4 separate regions of the Homo sapiens genome follow, and regions 1, 2 and 3 are each linked to region 4. The links are contacts of gene promoters, found by promoter capture Hi-C in blood cells and fetal thymus (Javierre and others, 2016). All regions are on one chromosome and are shown on one strand. Each heading gives the region's core, a stretch centred on a gene start or on the middle of the fragment in contact. The rest is flanking DNA. Distances are from core to core; before and after follow the strand shown. Region 1 holds the start of PLAAT4 (phospholipase A and acyltransferase 4). Region 2 holds the start of RCOR2 (REST corepressor 2). Region 3 overlaps MARK2 (microtubule affinity regulating kinase 2). Region 4 holds the start of ATL3 (atlastin GTPase 3).

Evidence for each region. Contacts are between HindIII fragments. The CHiCAGO score rates a contact against its expected background, and 5 or more counts as called.
Region 1: the fragment with the promoter of PLAAT4 here is called in contact with the fragment with the promoter of ATL3 in region 4 in 6 of 17 cell types (total CD4 T cells, non-activated CD4 T cells, naive CD8 T cells and 3 more); the score reaches 8.7 in total CD4 T cells.
Region 2: the fragment with the promoter of RCOR2 here is called in contact with the fragment with the promoter of ATL3 in region 4 in 4 of 17 cell types (M0 macrophages, fetal thymus, total CD4 T cells and 1 more); the score reaches 10.9 in M0 macrophages.
Region 3: a contact is called between a fragment that was not itself captured here and the fragment with the promoter of ATL3 in region 4, in 1 of 17 cell types (neutrophils). The highest score is 6.2, in neutrophils.

What each region holds. Positions count from the first base shown.
Region 1 is chr11:63,535,549-63,538,248 of GRCh38, reverse strand. It overlaps PLAAT4 (phospholipase A and acyltransferase 4), which reads right to left and starts at 1,441. Exons shown (of 4, transcript NM_004585.5): 1 at 1,372-1,441. The coding sequence starts at 1,380. RefSeq lists an enhancer at 1,493-1,542. The HindIII fragment of the contact is 4,349 bases long and covers 1-2,700 here.
Region 2 is chr11:63,915,880-63,918,579 of GRCh38, reverse strand. It overlaps RCOR2 (REST corepressor 2), which reads left to right and starts at 1,416. Exons shown (of 12, transcript NM_173587.4): 1 at 1,416-2,250. The coding sequence starts at 2,124. RefSeq lists silencers at 538-587, 1,265-1,324, 1,465-1,584 and an enhancer at 1,676-2,339. The HindIII fragment of the contact is 18,401 bases long and covers 1-2,700 here.
Region 3 is chr11:63,887,782-63,890,513 of GRCh38, reverse strand. All of the region lies in intron 1 of MARK2 (microtubule affinity regulating kinase 2), which reads right to left. Among named protein-coding and RNA genes, the nearest start is that of RCOR2, 28 kb to the left of the region's middle. RefSeq lists an enhancer at 1,888-1,997. The HindIII fragment of the contact is 3,301 bases long and covers 1-2,732 here.
Region 4 is chr11:63,670,113-63,672,812 of GRCh38, reverse strand. ATL3 (atlastin GTPase 3) reads left to right here and starts at 1,437. Exons shown (of 13, transcript NM_015459.5): 1 at 1,437-1,523. The coding sequence starts at 1,478. RefSeq lists enhancers at 921-1,030, 1,071-1,570, 1,571-2,072 and silencers at 1,121-1,240, 1,561-1,620, 1,651-1,910. The HindIII fragment of the contact is 2,416 bases long and covers 1-2,051 here.

The sequences.
Region 1 (2,700 bases), core at 192-2,691, 130 kb after region 4:
CCTGTGGGCAGCTCCCAGGCCCTTCCTGACTGGCCCTTCCTCACCCTCCTCTCCCTCCCTGGGCTCTGCACCCACAGGCCCACTGAGTGACATCCCAGCCCCTCACTACTGCCCTGGCTCTGGTCTCTGCTGCTCTGCACATCTGGTTCTCCCTGCCTCCATCACTTCCCTGCAGCCACTCTTCCTCTTCCCCTCCCTCAAACCCCCTCACCTGAGAAGCTGCCCTGATGGCCCCAGCCTGGCTCAGCTGACCCGCCACCCCACTCCTAGGACCTGGGTCCCCGGGGGCCTCTGCTGCTCTCTGCAGGGGTCAAGTTGAGCTGCAATTCCCTGTGCCTCCCTGTGCCCCTCTGGGCTGTGAGCTCCAGGCAGGCAGGATCCTGTGTGCTCCTCCCTCCCTGCACCTCCAGGACCCAGTGAAGGGCCTGGCGTAGAATGGGGCAAGGAAATAGACAAGGAAGAGGGAGGAGAAAGGAGCAGGGCCAGGACTCCCTCCCAGCTCCTCCTCTGTATGTCAGGGCACCACAGGAGATGGTTTCCATGTGGGGAGAGAGAGGGGCTTTTAACTGCAATGCTGAATGTCTAAAACCACAGTCAAGGTACTGGCAACCTCAGCTGGTGGCCAGTGAGATATGAGCTTTGGCCTGGGCTCCCTGTTAAAAGCCCTGATTTGTTTTGGCAGCAGTAAAGCCCTTCCCCAGGATCAGGTGGTGCTGTTGGAGTGGGCTGCCCTCCAGAATTTGCAGGACTCCTTCCCGGAATGGTTTTGTTTCTAGTAATAGCCTGAGCCCCGCTGTTCCTTTTTAGTCACACACCACCGAGCTCAGCCTGCTCTCCCTAGAGCTTCTGCCAATCGGTACATCTGGGCTGATAGGAGGAGAAATTTCAGTTTTCAGAAAGCTGCTGAGATTAGAATGCACCTTAGAAGGCTGGATGATGCCACAGAGGAACGAGGAGAGAGAAAGCATCGTTTGGGGCCGAGAAGGGACTGAGCCCCAGTCACAGCAGAAGCAGACGATGTTGGGATTTGCTTGCTTCCCACAACCCAGAGTCCCCCACCTGCCCACACTCTGGCTTCTCCTCAGGCTGAGGTAGATTTGACACCCGGCACCCCACAGCTCTCTACTACATGGGAGTCCCGGGCTCCCCGCACTGTGCCAGTTACGCAGAGGAGGTGGACTCTGCCCAGAGGACTCCCTGTCCAGCTGGGCAGATGCACTTTTAAAAGACAAATACAGTTTTCCATGACAGCCTTCTAAAGACGAGCTCTGGAGCTGTGTGCCCAAGGCCAGGAGCCTGGACTGAGGCCTTTCCTAGGGGGAGCTGCCCAACTGCTGTAGAGTCAGTAATGCAAAGCCCTGGGAAACTTACCGAAGCCATCTCGAAGCCAAGAGGAGGTCTGGTGCTCCTCTTGTTTGTGGATCAGCTTTTATGCTGAAGGAGAGAATTTCACTTTCACTTTCCTTTTGACACTGTTTCAACCTCACTTAAATACTAAACACTGTTTAAAAGAGACAACTGTTTAAAAAGGAGCTATTTCTCTAGATGGAAGGACTAATCATTTCTTACACAAGCCATGGACTCATTGGTGCTTTAAAGCCACCTTGGGAGCAGCCAGAGTCGAAGGGGAGCCCTGAATTTCTGCCCTTGCTTGAGAAATAAAGGTCTTTTCTTTTTTTTTCTTTTTTGTTTGTTTGTTTGTTTGTTTGTTTGTTTTTTTGAGACAGAGTTTCGCTCTTGTCACCCAGACTGGAGTGCAATGGTGCGATCTCGGCTCATTGCAACCTCTGCCTCCCGGGTTCAAGTGATTCTCCTGCCTCAGCCTCCCAGGTAGCTGGGATTACAGGCACCTGCTGCCATGCCTGGCTCATTTTTCCATATTTAGTAGAGACGGGGTTTCACCATGTTGGCCAGGATGGTCTCGATCTCTTGACCTTGTGATCTGCCTCCCCGTCGGTCTCCCAAAATGCTGGGATTACAGGTGTGAGCCACCGCACCTGGCCAAAATAAAGGTCTCTTCTAAAAAGAACCCTGGGCAGCTCTTCCTACTCCAGGAAGGGGAGGCATTCGGAGGCAGGGAGATGTCAATCCCCAGTGCACCCCATAGGACATTGTCTTGTAAAGACACCCAGAAAATATTGGGCCAGAAGTCTTGGGAGAAGGCCAGAGGGGGTGTTTCATTCCATGGGGATGCCCTGGAGGTGAGGGGTACCTTAGACCATGTGGAGCCTGGGAGCTCATGGCCCCATTAAAATGCATTTGGGTGCAAGAAGCAGAACTAAACTCAAAAGGGCTTCAACAGCCTGGACACCCATTGTCTCGGTAACAGAAAGGCAGGAAGAGGGTGACTCAGGTTGGGTTTAGTGGCTCACCAAGGTCACCAAGGACTCAGCAGGCTGTCTCCATTGCACTGGTCCTGGGTCTGCACTGTTGCCCTGCAGGGACTCCCATGGCTGTAGCAGCCTTGAGTGGCCCATTTTTACCTGGCTATGCCCAAAAGATGGAGGGAAAGATAATTCTCATTTGTCTTTTTTTCAGGGAGTTAAGTCTTTCCCACAGTTCCCCAGATGACCTGTTCCCTTCTCCATTGGCCAGAACTGGGCCATATTTTCACACCCAACCAGAGGCCTAGACAGGTGGATCACTTGAGCCCACGAGTTCAAGACCAGCCTGGCCAACATGGCGAGACCCCGTCTCTGC
Region 2 (2,700 bases), core at 167-2,666, 250 kb before region 4:
GGTCCATTCATTCTCCTTTGTCCAGACCTCCCCACCCTGGGGCTTGGTGCCCAATCCATGATTTAAGAGGAGGATAAAGGCCCCGTAGCCCTGGCCCGAGGTGTGGCGGGCAACGTGGCCGCTGGCTGGGTGGCCCCATGTGGCTCGACGGCGCAGCAGCCGGGTGGGGTCGAGCCTGGCTTTCCCTGGCTGTCCGCAGGAGTCCCCGGGAACAAGCGGCCCCAGCCGGGTCGTGGCCCGACCGCAACACCCCGGCCACTCGGCCGCAGGCAGCGGGTGGGGGCAGGGATCCCTGGCTGGGCCCTAGGCTGCTTCTAAATTTAGGAATCTGATTACAGAGTGGACCAGGAAGGGAAGGGAGAGGAGGGCGCGAGTGCGGGCTCGGCTCAGTCTGGGCACAGCGGGGTGTGCCTGGGTGGAGGTGTGTCCAGGAGACTGGGGCTCCGGGTGGGAGGGGCGGCGGGCGGGGGCTTCAGCTTGTGTGCGCTGCAGCACGTGCCCCGGGCGGCGGGGACGGGCACGGGCGCAGCTCGCAGGCTCGGAGCCGCCGCCGGTGTGTGCGCTGGCTCTTTGTGTGCCTGGCAGGGTGGCTGGGTCTGGCTTTGAAAGTCTCTGCCCACCCCCTCCCCCATCTCCGTCTGTGCCGCTCTACCCGCTTCCCTGTCTGTCACTCTGCCCGTGCTTGTCCGGGGGGAGGGGGATGCTGCTTCCAGCTGGGGTGACAGTGAACCCAGTGGGGAGGAGACCCAGCTCCTCTCTCCCCTGCAGCCCAGACCTTCCCCTACACCTCCCACTCCCCATCCCTCAGCCCTTGCTACCACTGTTTAGGGGTGCATACTGCAGCAGTTAAAGGGAATTGGGGCGACCCTTGGGGACCCACAGATCCACCAGAAGCCAGCCTCTGGCTGGGTAGCTCTTGGAGGAATTCATTCCTTGCCTGTCCAGCCTCCCATCCGTTCTGGCCCCCAAGGGCGCATAAGGGGGGTCCCCCCTGCGGAAGGGGGGGCGGGGAGTTCCTTGGCAGGAAGGGAAATGGAAGGAAAAGCTGGGCTCCACCCGGGCGGGCGGGCAGGCGGCCCCAGGGCCCCCGGGGCAGGCGGCAGTAACCCGAGCCCACTGGTGTGTGGTGTTGGTGTGCGCGTGGGTGGGGCTGACCCCTGGCTACTCCTGGGGGGCAGTGGGGTCTCCCCCAGGGGCAAGTCTGGGAGCCCAGGGACGCGAGGGGAGCCCCCGCAGCGGGACGCGCGCCCCACCAGGGTCCTGATCCCACCCCCTGGAGGTCTGGCCCCGGCCCCCTGGCCCCGCCCCCCGGGCCCTCCCTCCCACCCCAGGGCCAGATGTTCAGCTGGCGGAGGCATCGGCTGGGGGAGGGGTGCTGAGGCCGCAGCCGGCACTACTTCCCTGCCAGCAGCTTCATTGTGTGCGCGAGGAGCGAGCGGCGGCGGAGAGCGGGCGAGCAAGCGGCATCCCGAGCGCGGCGGGGAGAGCGAGCGCGCCGGGGAGGGTGCGAGGCGGCACCCGCGGCTGCGCTCCGCCCGCCTCCCGGCAACTCTGCCCAGCGCCGCGCGCCGTGCGCGCCGTCCCGCCGCCGTCGCCGCCGCCGCCGCCGCCGGTGCCCCGGCCGGCTGCCGTCGCGGGCAGGGGTCTGCTTAGGACACGGGTCCCCGCCCGGGGACTGGGGCATCCCCGGCGCAGCTGAGAGGCGCAGAGCCCGGGGGGCGCAGATTGCGCTCCAGCGCCCAGCCGCTGAACGGCGTGGGCAGGTGGGCGGTGGGGTTCCAGGGCGCCCCGAGGACAGGGGGCCCCGACTTCAGGGGAACCCCAACCCTGAGGGGCGTACATAGTAATCACGCCCCAGCCGCACCGGACCTTGCGCTCATCCCTTGCGTCCCCCACTTCTGCACAAACTTTTCTGACGCCCTGGCTCGTGGGGGTCGTGGAGAGCGCTGGGGCTACCAGGTGGGCTCCCACCCCGCCGGACCCTAGCCACGCTGACCTCCTGCCTCTCCTAACCTCAGTGGCGACCTCTCCAGGCCGGGCCGGGCTCGGCACTCGGAGCGAGTGCGGCAACCACTGTCGCTCTCCGAAGGCTCCTGCGCCCCCCGGGGCAGCTGGGCGGGGTAATGCCCTCAGTGATGGAGAAGCCGAGCGCGGGCTCTGGGATCCTGTCCCGTAGCCGGGCCAAGACGGTGCCCAACGGCGGACAGCCCCACTCGGAGGATGACAGCAGCGAGGAGGAGCACTCGCACGGTGAGCCCGGTGGCCTAGGGTTAAAGGCGCGCCGGCCTGGGGGGAGCGGAGTGGGGCGGGAGGGGGAAGAGTTGCAGACCACGAGCCTGTTACACTGATGGCTCCTGCCTCTCCTGGATTGGAGCCTCTGCGTTGCTTCTCCCACAAACCCAGGCTGCCGGCACAGCCAATCTGGAACCTGGGCCCCTAGCTGCTGTGGAGGCGTCCTGCCGGCCCCTGCCCTGCCCTCACCCCCTCAGGGACCGAGGCATCCCTCCCTTGCATAGAGTGGGTCCCTCATACCTTGCCACCTTGCAGGGGACTGAGGTCTGGCTGGAGCAGGGACTGGAGAGACACCTCCACACAGAGCTGTGAGGCTCCTGTGGTGGGAAGGAGCCTTGGGTTCCTTGCAGGGCTGTGGTCCAGGTCTAGGGGCTGCCCTCCAACCCCGCTCCCCTCCCCCGGAACAAA
Region 3 (2,732 bases), core at 49-2,548, 220 kb before region 4:
GAGTCAGGAACTCAAGACAGGGTGGCTGTGAAGGGCTGGTCCCACGCTGGGTATCCAGGACAGGGAAAGAGAGGAGGTTCTGCTTGTTCAGGAGCCAGAGAAGCAACAAGCACTGGTGCTTGCTCTTTGATCCCCTGCTCCAAAGTCACCAACCCCCTTTTCGGGACTGAACCATCCAACTCAGAGGACTCCAAGTGCTCAATCCTTCCCTTACTTACCCCTGCACCCCTTCTTCTATGCTGTAAGATGTTTCCCACAGCAGGGATGTGAGCCAGGGTAAGGAGGCAAGCCACTGGAAGGAAGCAGAGAAAAGAAAAAGGGAAAAGAGAGGAGAGAGTCTCCAACAGAAATGCTTCTTGGGCCAAGGCCCCAAGTGAGGCAACTTCCTCACCTAGCTTCTTCCCTGAAGGATAAAGAGGTAAGAGTATGCAGTGGCTAATATGGAGAGAGAGTTTCTCTTTTTTGGTTCTGGCTGCACCATTCAGCTTGGCCCTGGGTCTCACCAACAGGATGGCAGGCTGAGGATTAGCTGCCCTGCTGGGCCAACTCAATAGGACCTGGCAAAAGCCACGCTCTCCCCTCTACCACCATCCTCCCTGCTTATAGTAAGACGTGGCACACCAGGCACTCCCAAAGCTCTGGCCTATATCATACTCTAGACAGGCCCTAAAGGATGGAGGAGGTCTGTCAAGAGTAGACCCTATGGCTCTCAAGTAGCCTTTAGAAAGAATAAGGGGTCACCCTGCAAGGCAGTTATTTGGAACCAAAAGGCAAACCAAGTAGTTACTAAGCAGGCCTGATTCAGAAGTAGGGCTGAAACAGCTTTGGGGTCTGCTACTGAGAGGAAGAGAGAAGGCAGGACATGGAGGAGAAAATAAAAAGATAGTTTTGCATCCACTGGGCCTGTCAGGCCCCTTCCGCCTGGGATCTCAGACTCGGCCTAGGTGTGTTGTCAGGCTTGCCCGGAAGACAGCCTCCACCCCGAGAGGCCTGGCGCTGACTCAGGTAGGCAGGGCCCCTGCCCTAATGCTGGAGGCTCCTACCAACAGTTGTCCCATGGAGAAGCTCATGCTTTGGGGCTCTGCATTCAGGGCTGGCTTCAAGTGTCCTTTGGCTTCCCGAGGGCTGAGAAGGAGCCAAACCAGGAGGGGTGATATTCCCTGGCCAGAAGCAGAGTAAGCCAGGCACTATAGAGTTGGGGGAGAAAAGTGTCCCTTGGGCACCAGTCCTGGGCAATGGCCCCAGATCCTAGGCTCCCCCTCACTGTAGCACGGGAGCATCCTCTCTGAGGCCTCAGGCCTCTGCCTCCCACCAGCCCCTCCTCGCCCACTTGTCAAGCTGCTTGTTCTCAGGGGAGACCCTTCTGGTATGTGCCCCCTCTTCCTTTCCTAGTCAATGCCTCTTCCACATCTGGACACCCTTCCCATGAATATTACTATGCTGGACTCAGGCAGGGCGCCCCTTAGCAACTCTCTAAAGATCCTATGTTTGAGATGAGAGGAAAGAAAGAGGAGGAGGCAATCCTAGAGTAAAAAGGGGGACAACATACCCGACTGGAGAAAGGGAAAAGGACTACCAGCGACTTCCATTCAGCAGAGCCCACAGCAGAACCTGTCAGGCAGCGAGGGCAAAGTACAGAGGCCGGGAAGAGCCAGGCCTAGGGCGGGGGCTGCCGGCTCAGCCAGCCACCCTTACTCAGCCAGAGCAGGCGACACCTTCCACCACCTCCTCAGTGAAAAGTAGCTAAGCAGCCAGGCCGAGCGGTTCCTGCCTGGGAACCTGGACGGTGTCGCAACCGAAACCACCACTAGCAGAGAGACTGGGTTTGGCAAGGAGAGCAACAGGGACAAAGCCCCGCTGGCTTCTCAAGGGCCAGAGCCTGGTGGTCAGGAAGCGCGTGCAATTCCAGGACAGCACACCAGAAGCAAGGTGGGAGGGAAGGGGCAGGAGGGGAATAGGGCAGGAAGGGAGACAGAGAAAGAGGCGGGTTTAGATCAACTTCCTTCTCCCCTCCCCCTCCCCCCCTCCCCGGAAGTGGGCAGCCCCACCCTCCCCAAGGTGCTTTGCTGGGTAACAGCTGGCGAGAGGTCGAGGAGACTCACTGCAGCCACGGCTGTCATAAAACCCTAGCTCACCTGTGGCAGGTGGGACCTGGGTAGGGGCAGATGACTTTAACAAAGCCTCCAATAGGGCTGGGGAGGAACATGTGTGACTCAGATGTGCTGACCCAGAGTGGCGGCCCTGCCAAAGACCAGCAAACCACCCCCTCAAGAACGAAGTGGGGAGGAGGGTAAGCAGAAACCAGCAAGCTGACAGTGGCGGACGGACCTCCTACTTCCTAAAAAAGCAGTGCTTAACCTTGGAAACATGCACATTCCACTTAGACACAAAATATTTTGAGCATAATTTCAGGGAGTTTGGGGACTCTGTAAAGCCCCCTATGAGGTGTATGTTTTCTAGATTAAGAGCCTTTATCACTGATAGAGCATTCTATCAATGAAAAAATCATATTTAATCCTAGATTTTGCCCAAAAGCTAGAAACAATCCAAATGTCCCTTTTAAGTTCCTTCCAGCCCTGCTTCTGAACGTTCATCCCTAGGTTCTCACTCACCTCCAAGTTTCCAGTCACCAATCCCCTGCCTTACCTTCAAAACAACACTGCTTTCTCAAGGAATTCCAAAGGCCTGGGATTCCTCACACCTTCCTCCTGCTAAGCCCCCACTATCTGGGC
Region 4 (2,700 bases), core at 188-2,687:
AACACAATGAAAGGTAAAACATAAGTCAGATAGTAGCAGGAAGTCTTTTTTTTTTTTTTTTTTTTTGAGATGGAGTCTTGCTCTTTCTCCCAGGCTGGAGTGCAGTGGTGCCATCTCCACTCAATGCAACCTCTCCTGCCTCAGCCTCCCGAGTAGCTGGGATTACAGGCGCCTGCCACCACGCCTGGTTAATTTTTTGTATTTTTAGAAGAGATGGGGTTTCACCATGTTAGCCTGGCTGGTCTTGAACTCCCGACCTCAGGTGATCCAACCACCTCAGCCTCCCAAAGTGCTGGGATTACAGGCGTGAGCCACCGCGCCTGGCCAAGTGGTATGAAGTCTTTTGGAGAAAAGTAATGCAGGGAAAAGGAGCAGAGAATGCTGGGATGTGCGTGCAAGTTTTTTTTTTTTTTTTTTGATGGAGTTTTGCTCCTGTTGCCTACGCTGGTGTGCAATGGTGCGATCTCGGCTCACTGCAACCTCCGCCTCCTGGGTTCAAGCGATTCTCCTGTTCAGCCTCTGGACTAGCTGGGATTACAAGCGTGCGCCACTACGCCTGGCTAATTTCGTATTTTTAGTAGAGACGGGGATTCTCCATGTTGGTCAGGCTGGTCTCGAACGCCCACGACCTCAGGTGATCCACCCGCCTCGGCCTCCCAAAGTGCTGGGATTACAGGCGTGAGGCACGGCGCCCGGCCTGGACTTCTTACATTAGCTATCAGAGCGGTGATGGTGCGCATCAGCCATGGCCAGGGACAGGAATATAGGGAGATGATAATAAAGGTGGTAATGAAGTCACGGCCACCTGCCCTTATGAAGTCAAAATCATTAAAGACCCAGTGACGTTCATGCCATCCAGGGTTGAGGCCTCTCTTCTGCCCACCTGTGGTCCCAGGCCTAGTTAAACACCAAAGCTGTCTCTCACACTGGTGGTTCCAGGATAAAGCCTCGGCCTGGGGCCTGGTCTGCACGTTAGGCGCCGGCCGCAGCTCGCAGGAGGACCCGAGCCAGCCCGCCCCTTCCCGCACAGCCTGCTGGGAGTTGTAGTTCAGTCGTCGGAGAACCACGCCAAGCCCCGCCCCAGATGAGTGCGCAGTATGAGGACCGCTGGCCGGGACCCAGTGAGCGCGGGACTACAATTCCCAAAGGACGGTAGCACTCAGCGCCCCGCCAACAGGTACCCGGCGGCTCGCTTCGCGCACACGCGGCAGGCGGTGGCGGGATTCTGCCGCGTGCGCTTTCCCGCCCCGCCTCGCCTAGCCTCGTCCTGCGCTCGCCACGCCTCGGGCTGTCCGTTGGGCCACGCAGACCGCGCTGCGCTCGCTCCGTCGCGGCTCCGCGTGCCCCACCTTCTGGCTAGTTTTTTCTAGAGCCCAGGCTCCGCCCGTTTCCCGCTTCCAGGGCCCGGTTCGTTCCCGCCCGCACCCGTCCCTCTCCTCTGCACCCCTGCTGCTTCTGCTTTGAAGGCGGAGGCTCCATGTTGTCCCCTCAGCGAGTGGCAGCAGCTGCCTCAAGAGGAGCAGGTGAGGCGCCGATTTTCCCTGGATCGCCCCGCGGCCACCCCCGCCGCCTTCCCTGCTGTAGTTCTGAAAAGAACCCCCGCCCGCGCCGCCGCCCTTCCTCGTCCCGGGGCTGGGACCGCGCGTCCCTCGCCGGGGTCACTCGGTTTCCGAATTTGTGGTGGGGGGGCCCCTCTTCGGGCCCAGCTGGTCCAGCGAGGGCGGCACCTTCCTTACTTTTCGGCCGGGGGCGGCCGCCGTCAGGGCTCGGGCCCTGGTGCCGCCGGGGGCTCCTCCAGCTCCTCCCCTGGGCTGCAGCTGCCCCTGGGCGGCCCAAGGGCCGGTGGTCCCCGTGGGCGGCGTCCGGAGCTTCGGCCCCGCCGAGCCCCGCCCTGGGCAGAGCCGGGCGCCCCAGGGCGCTGCCCCTCCGTGCCCGGGCACTCAGCGCCCTCTCTGGTCGGAGAATCGGGGCCTGGATGGAGCGGGAAGGTGAATGCTGGTTTATTTGGCCTTTCTGGAAGTGCTGGAAGGCTGCGAAGTGTCTTGGAAGCTTTATTTTTATCCTAACGACCTTGAGGCACTGACCACAAGTATTAGGAAAGTTGGTTTTCAACCCATACTTAACGCTGTAAAGAATTGGTCTAAATTGGTTTTTCGTAAGTTAGTGCTTTTGGCACAGTACGTTGTTCTTTTGCTTTCCCGAAGACATGAAACATAGTGAAAGTATTAAAAACCAAATAAGGAGTCACCGTGTATTCACGGATCTGATTTAGTCTGTCATTTTACTTGGCTTTATTCTAGTGTAATGTGTGTGCTGTTGAAATGACCGTTTCACTTGCGAAATCGAAGAGCAAAAAGGAAAAGAACAGTGAAGAATTTTTAAATGAGTCTCAGTTCTCAAATTCAAATACGAAGCAATGGAACGTTTTGTCAGTCTTAGAATAACGGACCAAAAATGTACGATTTCACATATTGGCTTACTTTTGGAGATTTAAGAAGCATAACCTACGGAGTACTAATCCCTGTCAAGAATTTAGCATTGCAACATAGGTACTGAAATTCAAATTAGTGCTTTTTTTTTTCCATTCCCACAGAGATTAGCTTGTACTCCAGAAATTCCTGTTGCCGCTCTAACACCTGTAAACACTTGGCTGAGAAGGATCTCAGTATTGCAGTAGTCCAGCACATTGTTTTATTATTA